2 separate regions of the Homo sapiens genome follow, and region 2 is linked to region 1. Evidence: promoter capture Hi-C in 16 types of primary human blood cells and fetal thymus (Javierre and others, 2016). All regions are on one chromosome and are shown on one strand. Each heading gives the region's core, a stretch centred on a gene start or on the middle of the fragment in contact. The rest is flanking DNA. Distances are from core to core; before and after follow the strand shown.

The links. The method cuts DNA at HindIII sites, captures the fragments that hold promoters and counts their contacts. A CHiCAGO score of 5 or more calls a contact.
Region 2: a contact is called between a fragment that was not itself captured here and the fragment with the promoter of RXFP2 in region 1, in 1 of 17 cell types (M1 macrophages). The highest score is 5.6, in M1 macrophages.

The regions. Positions count from the first base shown.
Region 1 is chr13:31,737,272-31,743,696 of GRCh38, reverse strand. It overlaps RXFP2 (relaxin family peptide receptor 2), which reads right to left and starts at 4,171. Exons shown (of 18, transcript NM_130806.5): 1 at 3,991-4,171. The coding sequence starts at 4,084. The HindIII fragment of the contact is 9,597 bases long and covers 1-5,804 here.
Region 2 is chr13:31,218,527-31,224,951 of GRCh38, reverse strand. B3GLCT (beta 3-glucosyltransferase) reads right to left here. Exons shown (of 15, transcript NM_194318.4): 3 at 1,961-2,000. Among named protein-coding and RNA genes, the nearest start is that of B3GLCT, 22 kb to the right of the region's middle. The HindIII fragment of the contact is 7,802 bases long and covers 1-6,164 here.

The DNA.
Region 1 (6,425 bases), core at 2,922-5,421:
CAGATGCCTGCAGAGGCAGGGAGGAGGGGAGAATAAATAAAGATGGGAAGGAGAGGCGAGAGGCTTGAACAGGAGCAAGGGGGCCCGAGTCAGAACAGTGGGAAGGGGGAGGATGGGAAAGGAGGACTAGAACTTTATCAATCACATTGAACATGTTGTAAAGGCTTTTTACTTTGTAATAAAGTTAAATTTTCAATCGCAATTCTTTAATTTTTTTTTTTTTAATTTTGAGACAGAGTCTCGCTCTGTCGCCCAGGCTGGAGTACAGTGGCGCAGTCTCGGCTCACTGCAACCTCCGCCTCTCAGGTTCAAGCAATCTTCTTGCCTCAGCCTCCCGAGTAGCTGGGACCACAGGTGTGCACCACCATGCCTGCCTGATTTTTGTATTTTTAATAGAGATGGGATTTCACCATGTTTTCCAGGCTGGTCTTGAATTCCTGACTTCAGTGATCTGCTTGCCTCCCAAAGTGCTAGGATTACAGGTGTGAGCCACTGCGTATGGCCTCAATCTCAATTCTTTTTACATCTTAAAACACTCAAAAGTCTGTTTATCACATGACTGTTGAATCAGCTGTTTTATTTTCGCTTCGGAGCACTTTTCTGATAACAACATTGACCTTCACTGCAAACTTAATTTTTTAAAATACATGCAAAAACCTGGAAGTACGGGTGAGTAAAGCATATGAGAGGTTTATTTTTTGTTTTTAGATAATTAGGCCTCTAATGCCACTACTACTTCACATGTGAAACAAGCACACTCATTTTACCCAAAGAATGTTGTTATATGTTTACCAAATAAATAAACCAAGCCATTCTGGGCTCTTAAATAGATATGTACTGCTAAAAATTAGTTGCATTTTTTGTTGCATAACTATTTATACAAAATCATTCTTTGCTAATTGAATTTTATTTGGTTTACTATATTCCAGAATAAAAATGTGCCATTTTTCGATACCAACCTATTAGAAAGCAGCATCCCAATTTTGCCTCTAAAATTCACATGGCAGGCAATTTTGTCACTTCAAGTGAGAGGCCTTAAAACTCTTTGATTACATCTGGTCATATTTATTCACAGTAAGATGAACACACGAGTAAGCATCTGTTGTGAGATGTATTTAGCTGGCGTCTTCAGAGATAACACATCTCTAAAGGTTTTAACTCCCATGTTCCCAATCTTTTTCCTCCTCCCTCACAGTGGGCTTCATTCAGCCCGCAAGCAGGTCAGTCTTCGGGATGACTGGCCTGAAACATAATTGATTTTCACAACTATCCACAGCATGAATATAAAGTTGTGAAATTAAAATTCAGATGGAAAACCTTTTCTCAAGTCAGAGTGGCCAAGTGAAACTGACATCCGTAAGAAAGGACCATGCCAGGCATGCCTTGAGTCTGGCCACTAGGGGGCAGTCAAACACTGCTCCCCTCAAAATACTGTTCGGGCCCGGTTTTGGTTAACCTATTTTGGAGGTTAAGCAAATTATTTAAGTAGCAATTGGTAGTTGCCAAGTAGCAGCCTCAATGCTTCATGCTTTTACTTTCTTACATAAGCCCATGTTTTTGATTTGTAATATGGTTCCTAATTTGTCCATTAAGAAATGTTTTTTAAAAGTTTAAAGTTATGTTTAATAACTTTATTTTAGAGATGTTTACTCTTAGAGACAGATACTGTTTTTAGATCTGCCTGTGGCTTTGGAGTTCCCAGTCTAATTACGTTAACGCAAGATAGTTACTAACAATTACATGAATTTTATGGACATATTTCAACAGGTTGAAATTCCACAAAACACAATTGGTAGTTACCAAGTAGCAGTCTCAATACTTCATGCTTTTAATTTCCTACATAAGCCCATGTTTTTGATATGTAATATGGTTCCTAATTTGTCCATTAAGAAATGTTTTTTAAAAAGTAGTTTGAAGCTGGTTAACAGAGATACACAGTGAATAAATTAATGATAAAACACACGTAATAATAATAAGATACATTATGCATAGTTGTCTGTTAGTGCCTGTAGCTTAAGGCAATCACTCATTCCTTAGGCACTCCAGAGTGATGATGGTCAGAGAAGAAAAGACGATCACATAATTTCTAATTTTATGTTTTGTTTAGATCTGGCCTAAGAGTCTATCACAAATATTATTTAAATTAAAAAGACAACCTTTACTCTTAGGCAACTCTAAATGAGCTTTCTTTGGTTACTATGAAAAGCCTTACCGTTTTAATTGTCCACAATTTTGTTGTGAAAAAGAAAAGAGTTTTACTAATTATAGAGCAAATTCTATTATTTTTATAAGTAGGAATAAAATGTCAAAGCATTGATTAATGTGTCTTGCTTTGAAAAGAAATCATTTTAAACATAAAGGTTTAAATTAGTAGTCAAAAGTAATATAAAATTAGAAAATAAAAATTTCCAGGATTATAATCAATAAATATTTGTTAGGTTGGTACTAGGAGTTTGAAATATGGCTTTTACTTAGAAATAAAATCAAACAAAAATTATTAATTGAACTTTTTTTTAGTTTAAAGGGTGACTTTACATTATGGTAAATCACAAAATGTTATTTTAGTAATAGATGTTTTTCATCTCATAAACGGTTTAAGCAAAATCAATTAAATGCATTATGTATAAAAGCAAAAGTATAGTAAAATTGGTTAAACTGTGGTTATAGTCCCGTACATTAAAGAACTTTTTAAGGGCACAGATGAGCTCTATGACATGTCTTAAGAACCTGCTTTGTAGCTGTATATTCTTAAAATTGTATAAAATTGAATATTCAAATGTGGATAGAACATGAACTTCTGAAGTAGGACCTTAAATATAGAAATAGACTGCTTGTTGCAACTGTACTGCATGCAAGGTGAGTTCATATATTGTTTCTTCTTAGTTAATCCTTAGCTTTTCATGTAAGAGATATTAAAATATAAAATAAAAGTCATGCTAGGTGCATGGAGATATAGATTTTAAATATTTGTAGTAAAGTTTTAGTATTATTTTAAATTCAAAATAAAATTTAGATATTTTAAGCCTTTTAAAAATCTTTTGTTTGTTAGAAGTTTTAAAATAATTCCTCATAAGTATTGCATTTTATTTCAAGATTTAAAATATTCACTTGGAATTCACCTAATAAAACTGAATATTTAAAAAACCTAAAACGAATTTCTCAGAAAATAAAAATAATTTCAAATTTTAACCTTTATTCTCAGAGGTTTATCAAAATTCTTTAAGAAAAAATACAAATTAAAATAGAAACATTTTTGAATAATAATAAACCCCAGCAAATCTTGGGTGTGGTTAATAGGTTGTTTATGAATGTATAGGCTGACAACGTATCTTTTTATTTAAAAACAAGTGAAGATTTAGGTTTTATTTTTTGGTGAGCTTTACAATGAAAATGGTACTGACTTGAAACTTAAGAGTTTGACTGAAATAAAAATTTCCACAAATTAAAAACAAAAGAAAATTATCTAAGTAAATGCACTTGTATAGACTTTTAATAACTTTATTTTAGAGAGGTTTACTCTTAGAGACAGATACTGTTTTTTAGATCTGCCTGTGGCTTTGGAGTTCCCAGTTTAATTATGTTCACGCAAGATAGTTACTAATAATTACTTGAATTTTATGGGCATATTTCAACAGGTTGAAATTCCACAAAACACAATTTTAGTTTATTAATTTGTCACACTTTTCAGAACAAATGCCAAAAATGTTTTCTATGTTTTAATTGATATAGTCAACATTGTTTTTTGACATATTTTATCTACAGCTTTAATAACATACAAAGGCTTGTTTCCATGAAAAATTTGTTGCATCTAAAAATTACTAGGCTGTGTGGGACTACAAGCAATGAAAGATAATGACAAATACCAGGCAAATTTGATGTCTGTTTTTTTTTTAAACACCCCAATATATTTATTACAACTGCCATAGAACTACATAGAAATGTATTTTTTGGGAATTGCACTCATTTAAAACGAGAAAGTAGCAACCTTACCTTTGACATTGATCAGAACGATGAAATGAAGTAGAAAGAACATTGTAATCAATCTGAGGCTGAAGAGATGTTTAAAAACCAGAAAAACAATCATAGGTTTACAGCAATTGAGTTATTAGACGTATCCTCTTATACCTCAGCAGGAGTTCTGATGTAGTAAGTTCAGTGCCTCCCATGTTCTGAGCATGCTCACAGCTAGAACCTCACTGGCATGAAGGGAGATGGATTCTTGTCACTATGCAGCCTGTCTTTTTTGTTCTTTCTTTTTTGTTTCTTTTAGTTTAAATCTACAGTTGTGTTCTTGATCACTAATTCATTATGGTGTGTAAAAGAAGGTATAATAGGACTTTGGTATTATCTGATAAGAAATATTTTTTAATCACTTAAAAATTTTTTTCCTCCAAAGCATGTACAATTTGCTCTGTTTAAATCCAAACATCGAAGTTCTCAAATATGAAGGATATAGGCTTACACTGAATAGGCTATGAAACCCTTTACAATTATATTTTCATGCAATAAACAAATGTAAAAAACTACTTATTGACAGATACACAAAGAACACCCACTTCTATTCAAATGTACCTAAATGTTTTCAAATGACATATGAAAAGATAATTTAAATATATGGCATTGTGTTAAATAATTACTGTAAAACATTCATACAATATTTTCACTTCACATACTTCCCGCATAATCATATTCCTTTTTCTTGAAGTGAATAATTTTATTCTTGCTTCCAGCTCTGTATTGCACACCTATTAGAAAACACTAATTATAATTTAGTTCTTACATCCTGAAAGCAGCTTTCTCAACAGCATAGTTAGTACAAGTTAAAAGTATAAAAATTGACTTTTGGTTGTAGGATTCTGTTGATCCTAGTGTAATCATTAAGACTTCTCCAAAAAGATGTAGAATTTCCATGTCTGAGTTTATATTTTACTAACAGGGAAATATCTATCTAGAATACAGTTTGTAGTTCTGATTTGAAGAGAAGATTTTGTGACTGAACGATGCAGATTCTCTTATATGTTGTCGTTAACTGTGTCCTAACAACACTGAAAAAAACTACCTTGTGGTGACTATTATCGTCACAAATCATAAAACACGGGGTTTTCCTTGTTCTTTCTTTCATTCTAGCCTTTGAGAGAACAAGGATTCAAACAGAATGTACAATAAAAAATACTTTATTTATCACATAATGTATTTAGTTCTTTTCTCTTTTTAAGAAGTGAGTTAAGTTCTCTAAGACACCTCCCAGACATATTTATATGTGGTCTCATCTGATCTTTCAAATCAAAAGAAAAAGCAACAGAGAGAATAAAGATGAAAAGAAATACTTCAGGATCTTTTCTTACATTTCAAGCATCTTTTTTTCCCTCACTAACCTCAAGGTCTTTTTAGGTAAAAATTGCCTTATTTCACTTAAAGGAATGATTAGTTTTTCTTACGTTTTGTGTTTTGCTGTCGAGATGATGGATGCTAGTTTCTGGTACTGAAATTTTGAGCATGAGTTTTTAAGTGCAATTAAATACCATCATAAGTCTATTTGAAGTATAAATATATTTTCTATGAAAATGTAATTTTTGGAGAAATAAGAAATGTCAAGATGTCAAAGAAATTAGTTAAGATTTATTCATGATATCGAGCCCTAGCAATAGATTTACATTGCCAAAAAGTTGAATCGTTATTCCTTTCTGTTAGGCTTTTCAATGTTAATCTTTGAAATGTATTAACACAAACTTTCAGAAATCAATAATTATAAATAATAGGAACATCTTTGGCTCACTGGTTTTTAAAGGTAGAGCATGCAAGCTTTGAAATACCATTTCATTTAATATGTTTTAACTTTGACTTATCTGGTGTGAATATCCAGCCTTTTGCACCGAAACTGAAATGATTGACATGTACACAGGGATATAATGTATGTGTTTAAATAAGAGTGAATGAATGTAGTCTATTCTTAAAGCCACAGTTGGTAAGGAGGTTCCAAGGAGTGCTTCATGCAGAGCTGAGATGAAAGACTTGTGCAAACTGATTCTCACTCGATAGTAACTTCGAATCTGCGCAAGTGTTTTTTATTGATCCTTGCCTGAATCAGCTCATCCCTTCATTCCAGTCACCTGTTGGTAGGACCCATACTTTTAGCAGTAATACTATAAAACCTCATGTGAATATATTATTTACTATATAGCACAATTCAATATAATTCTGGCTAATTGAAGGGAATTTATTTACTGAAAGTACTAATTACCTAGTTCTATGTGATGGGGGGAGGGCACAGACATTTTCTTAGCTTCTACTGTAATTTTTGTGTACATCTTGGAAACCATTGTTAAATATAAAATTCTTAAATCAAGAACATAATTTACTTAAAAATGGTCAGAAACCCTAATTTTAACACATTTTCATAACTGTGTGATTGTTTTTTATATAGG
Region 2 (6,425 bases), core at 1,014-3,513, 520 kb after region 1:
GCTCTCTATGTCTTCAGTTGCTGAGCACCTACCATGGGCCAAGCACTGTACTGTAAAGTGCTCATCTTCCTGGTCAGAAATTACCTAGAAAAATGGGTTTCATCATGCTGGTGTTTTTCTGATGAAAAACCAATACGATGTACTTCTGATATAAGCTGTAACAAGCAGCCTTATGATTTAAAGTTGAGGAAAAAATATGCATGCATACACACACACCCACAAACACACACACACAAAGCGGGCCACTCCAATTATGTTTACTTGGTGAGAATAATCATATACTAGTGAATCTATCAATTAGGCAGCAAGCTGAAGGAGAAACAGCATCCCGTGCATGGAGGCTATCTCCCAGCTCTGACTGTGAGCCATGCTCTCGGTGCCCTGAATCTACTGTTGTCACTGCAACTGCCCAGGATCTTTAGTAGCCTCCTGGTCTTGCAGGCTCACACAAAGATTGTGACAAAGAAGTCCCCTGGGTCTTTTTCAGATGAACTGATACCAAGTTAGGTATCACTCGACTTGCCATGTGCAATTGCAAGAATATAAATTTACTTGTCCAAGGTAACTTCCCCTTTGTAGTTTCAAGCCCATGTTCCAGACTTGCATCATTAATTCATTTAATAACCAGAGACTCATCTGCTCCCATAAACTACAAATAAATGCTCAAAGCCACAGAGTTGGTAGCAGGGAAGAAAATCTCCACATGGAAAGGCGTGGCTAAACCATACAGGGTGTTATAATAGAAAGAAAAAGCAACAAATTGACGTGGTTCCTTAAATACAGCTGCTCGCAGACCCCAAAACACTCCCCTGTGGGCCCTAGATATGCGTGCCCAAGACAGGTCATCCTCCCACTTCCACCCGGGGGCGGGGGTCTCTCCTGAACTTCTGCACCCCTCAGAACCCAGGCCCAGGAAGGGAAGGCCTAGAAAGGAACACTTTCCTTTATCCTTTTCCCTCTTATCTAGAGCTCGCCTTCCAGGTCTCCATGGAAAATAGTGGAGAGGAAGCAAGAAGAGCATATTGTTCCCTTCTTGTTTCCTGGAACCCAGGCTTATCCATCATGAAACTGGAGGTGAGCCAACCCCCTGTGTCTGAAGGGAGACTTCTCCCATGGACCGCATACCCCCTGACACCATAGGCTTCCTGTGAGGTTCCACTGCTACTGGTGTCCAGGTCCTGGCTGATTGTGTTCCAGACTTGGGTCATTCCTCCTACCCTGGGAGGAAAGACATTGACAAAATTCACACCCTTCAAGGACAAACTCACCCCTACACACAGAGGTGTGGCCTTACACACTGGGCATGCTTCCCATTAATTTTTTTTTAAAGTCTAACTCCTGGTCACATTTCTGAAGATACTTACAAACTATGGCGGAGAGGGTGTTTCAAAAGGAGTACAAATAAGGAATGGGCAATGATAGAAGTATGATGCCTTACAAAGGAAGGAGTAACGGCTTCCAGGCCAGGATGCTCGGGACAAGTTTGGCAGACGTGACTGGTGAGCTGACTCCTGAAAGGCATGGAGGTGTCTGCAGGTCAGCAAGTGGACAGCCTGCTCCCGGACGGCCTGCGCTAATGTCACAGCTTGTTCTGTTCTCCCACATCATGTGGGTCCTTAATAACAGGGACCATGTCTCCTTCCCCTCTGCATTCCCCCAGAGAGCCCACCAGGCATGGTGCTTTATCCTTACTGGAAGCTCAATGAATGATGCCAGAGGGAATTAAATCCAACATATCTCACTAAGTAAACATAAATCCACCACATGCCAACATGCCCATCTGAGAGGTGTTTGCCCCACATCTTCAGGAGAGCAAACGTTAGGCTGGGCCAAAGACAGAATATTTGAACAACAATATTTACCCCATAAATAAAATCAGAAAAAAATCACTTCATGGAAATATAATTCATACAAAATATACCTAAGTACACACTCTTAGGTAAAAAAAATCATTACTTACCTATGTCATTTTTCCTTGATATACCACTTTTCTCCAAATCCTGTATTTTAAATGAAAGAGAAAAAGATGAATCTCAGTACATAACAAAGCCAGCAGTACACTGAGTAAACATGCATGGTGCATGGTATGTATCAGCACATGGGAGGAAGATTTGAAAAACGGAGCTTGGAAACGCTTCCCTAAAGAAATGAGACCGAAACCTAAGGGACCACGGAGCAATGATGTACTTCTGTATCATGACAGACTTCTTAGTTGGGGCTGTGCCCTTCTCATGTGATCTTGGGCAAGTCAATTGATTGAGCTGAAGCTCTTTCCTATTGTGTAAGATGCAGTGAATGTTTAACTGGTTCATGATATTCTCAGGAGGGTCCATTTTTAAAGCCCTGTAAACCATAAAGCATTAGGAACATATCAGAGGATAGTCTCGAACCTGGCAGGGTGCTCCTCATGAAGATAAGTTCTACTAATTATTGCACTTTATCATCTTTTGGGTGCAGTCATGCTATCTTCAAGAATGTTACCACAATGTTCTCTCCAACCTGAGGAGTAGTCCTAGGGGCCTGCAAAGGGCCTCAGAGGCCAGCCTATGGTGGTCACCAGAATTCAGGAGCACAGAGGCCGGGTGCGGTGGCTCATACCTGTAACCCCAGCACTTTGGGAGGTCGAGGCAGGTGGATCACAAGGTCAGGAGTTCAAGACCAGCCTGGCCAATACGGAAAACCCCACCGCTACTAAAAATACAAAAGTTAGCCGGGCATGATGGCAGGCGCCTGTAGTCCCAGCTAATCAGGAGGCTGAGGCAGGACAATCGCTTGAACCCAGGAGGCGGAGGTTGCAGTGAGCTGAGATCGTGTCACTGCATTCCAGCCTGGGCAACAGAGCAAGACTCCATATCAAAAAAAAAAAAAAAAAAAAAATCAGGAGCACAGAAGGGGCACCTTAAGAGCTGGAGAGCTCCAGACACAGAAATCTGGATGTGGGCACAGAAATACCTGACCTCGACTCTGTGTAAATCAACGGAGGAACTCTCAAAAGATTTATCTGGCAAAGTGCAAAGTGTCAGCAGCTAAATGTGCCATTTTCATTGTCTTCTCTGCAGACTAAGAAGGAATTTTCTCCCTAATTGCCCTTTCTTGCTTTCAACAGTCATATGCTATAATTATGACAACGGGATGGTGGCAAATATCCTTCAATTTTCTTCACAGACTGCAACAAGAAATGTGGTCGTGAGCCCTTACCAACAAAATTGGGAGCGGCTTAAAAGCCAAGAGACGTATCCACAGAGATGCATCCTCTAAGAATACCAAAGGGACCATGACAACACTCGGGGAAGAGAGAGCTAAACACAGGGGAGGGACTACCTTTAGTGGCATATTCTGAAATTATCTTTGTCTCGAGACTAGAAATGCCACTGAGTAGAGGAGAACCTATAGTTATATGCTGATTTGTTAACTCTCACGATGGATCAAGTGACACCTAACTTAATCCTGATGAAACAGGTAGATCTGGAAGAAATTACTAAAAAAGACTGGAAAGTTCAATCCAGTTCCCTGAATGCACTGAACCAAAGCCAGGTTATCACCGTAAGTCAGCATGCGCAGACTTACTCTAAATGCCACTCTTGACCAGGAAGACAACCTGCCCTCAGGGAAGGGGCCAGCCTCAGCTCCAGAGGAGCCATTTGGCTCCACTGGCAACCCACCACTTGCCCCAGGCCAAGCTGCCTTCTGGATGCCACAGCTTTGGCTGCCAGCTGAGGCTCCTGGAAAAATAGAATTGTTAGATCTAAAAACAGCATTGGAGATGATTCAACCCAACACTCCCCTTTTGCAAATGAGATAACAGAGGCTCAGAAAAGATAAATCATTTTCCCAAGGTCCAGCAGTCATTCTGGCCACAGAACCAGAATTACAAACCAGGTCTCCTAACTCGGTCCCAATGCTCTTCCTCACACCGCCATGATAACGCCTGCCCAGCCTTCCTCGGGAAGCATGCTTTAAAAAATACACATCATTAGATGTGAATAGATTTTGAGAGTGAGCTAAAAAATAATATAGAAAGCAAAAGTCACCTTCATCAACAAGTTAAAAGATGAAAAATATCCAGAATGCTACAGTTCTAGACTAAGCAACTGAAGCTGAAAAGCCAACTGGACTTTCCATCAGATAGCTATCTTTGTGAAATCAAAGAATAGCAACAAAAATGATACATCTTTCTCTTTGCCATTAAACACAGCAGCTCTGTTGACTGACACAATAGCTAGGAAATGATTAGCCATTTCAAGGGGTTCAATTTGTAAACTGTAAAAATCAAATATGCAAGAAACAGTTGAATAAGGTGAATTGAGATGGAACCAAAATGGTCTTGACTAATTTCCCCTGTGAGAAAGAAAATTAGACTAAATTAACAGAACAATTAAAATTCTGTCTCCAGCTTCCCTTGTGAAAAGACTTAGTTCTTCCTAAAATGAAGGAAACACATGGTTTGTTTTATTATTTCTGCTACCAGATGTTTCTTACGCTATCAATATCAATCAAAATGTGCTCACTGTCAAGGTTTTATAAGTCAACTGAATTGCTATTCAGATACGAAAGAGATTTGCCATTAATCTCTACCCCACAGAAAGCTCCTATGCTAGCCAGGAAAAGGCACATTAAAGTCACCCTTTGACACAGGTTTTATTTTTTAAGTCACAAAAGATTTGAACAACACTTGCAATCCATACATGTAATGCTTAGTTCATAAGTCCTTCATTAAAAGAAGATATGACACCCTCGAAAGAATTTTATATGGAATCTTTTAAAGGGAAGAGAAGTAAAATGGAATCTTCCACCCAGTCACAAGTACCCACCACTGCCCTAGAGATTCTGAATAAAATAATGAGATGTGTTCATGATTACACTCAGTCGGCCCTGGGCTCTAATTCTGCCTGCACCACCAACTAGCTCAGGCCTGTTTCAACTGGAATAGGAATAATAATGACAAGACCCACTTCACAGGATTGTGTTGTAGGTTGAACAAGATAGTAAAATGCTGAGCACAGGGTCTGCACAAAGCAAATGCTCAATAATATTGGCACCTACCCTTTTTTCATCATTATCATCAACTACTTCATATGAAGTCAACTACCTCCATAAAACAAATGTAACAGACAAAAGCAGTTCCTCTTTACTTTGATTTGTTCAGGTAGGAAAGATGGCTTATGCAACCTCTTAAAAGGCTGCTTATAGGAATTGTTCTTGTCTTATCAGGTAAACGTTTAAACAGGACCTGGCATTGTTCTAAGCTATAAACAGGCACACTTAATCTTCAAAACAGCCCTGTGAGGTAGGTCCTACTACCCCATCTTACAGATGAGGAGGCTGAGCACAGCGAGGTTCACTAAGCCCCACAACTGGCTAGTGGTGGAGAAGAGATGAACTTCAACACTTTGGTTCTCGTGACCAGTGTTAACCTTATGCCTGTCATTCAGAGCTCAAAGTCACAAGGACTTTGAGTGCTACCACAGGATTAGGTAGCACTTTAAATGTGTCACAAATGATCCTCATTATTGCCAAATACACACATCATAATGCACAGGGCTGTGTAATATAAAACAGTAAAGTGAGAAATATTCAATGATTCAGAAAATTTGGATTCTAACTTTACTTTTTAATAATCACGTGTTTAGGTGATGAATCGCATTTATTGATTTGCTTATGATGAACCAACCTTGCCTCCTAAGAATAAAGCCTACTTAACTGTGGTGGATTAGCTTTTGATGTGCTGCTGAATTTGGTTTGCTAGCGTTTTTGTTGAAGATTTTTACATCTATGTTCATCAGGGATACTGGCCTGACGTTTTCTTTTTTTGTTGTGTCTCTGCCAGGTTTTGGTATCAGAATGATACTGGCCTCACAGAATGAGTTAGGGAGCAGTCCCTCTTCCTCAATTTTTTGGAAGGGTTTCACTAGGACTGGAACCAGCGCTTTACACATCTGGTAGAATTTGGCTATGAATCTATCTGTCCAGGGCTTTTTCAAAAACCACATGATCACCTGAATAGAAGCAAAAAAAAAAAAAGGGCTTCTGATAAAATTCAGCATCCTTTCATGTTAAAAACTATCAACAAATTAGGCATCAAAGGTACACACCTCAAAATAATAAAAGCCGTCTATGACAAACCCATAGCTAACATCATACGGAATGGGTAAAAGCTGGAAGCTTTCCCCTTGAAAACAGGAACAAGACAAGGATGCCCACTCTCACCACTCCTATTCAATATAGTATTGGAAGTCTAGCCAGAGCAATCAGAGAAGATAAAGAAATAAAGGCATCCAAACAGGAAAAGAGGAAGTCAAAGTGTCTCTCTTCACAGACAGTAAGATACTATACCTAGAAAAGATCTCTAATAATCTTCAGCAAAGTTTCAGGATACAAAATCAATGTGCAAAAATCAGTAGCATTTCCATACACAAATAACATCC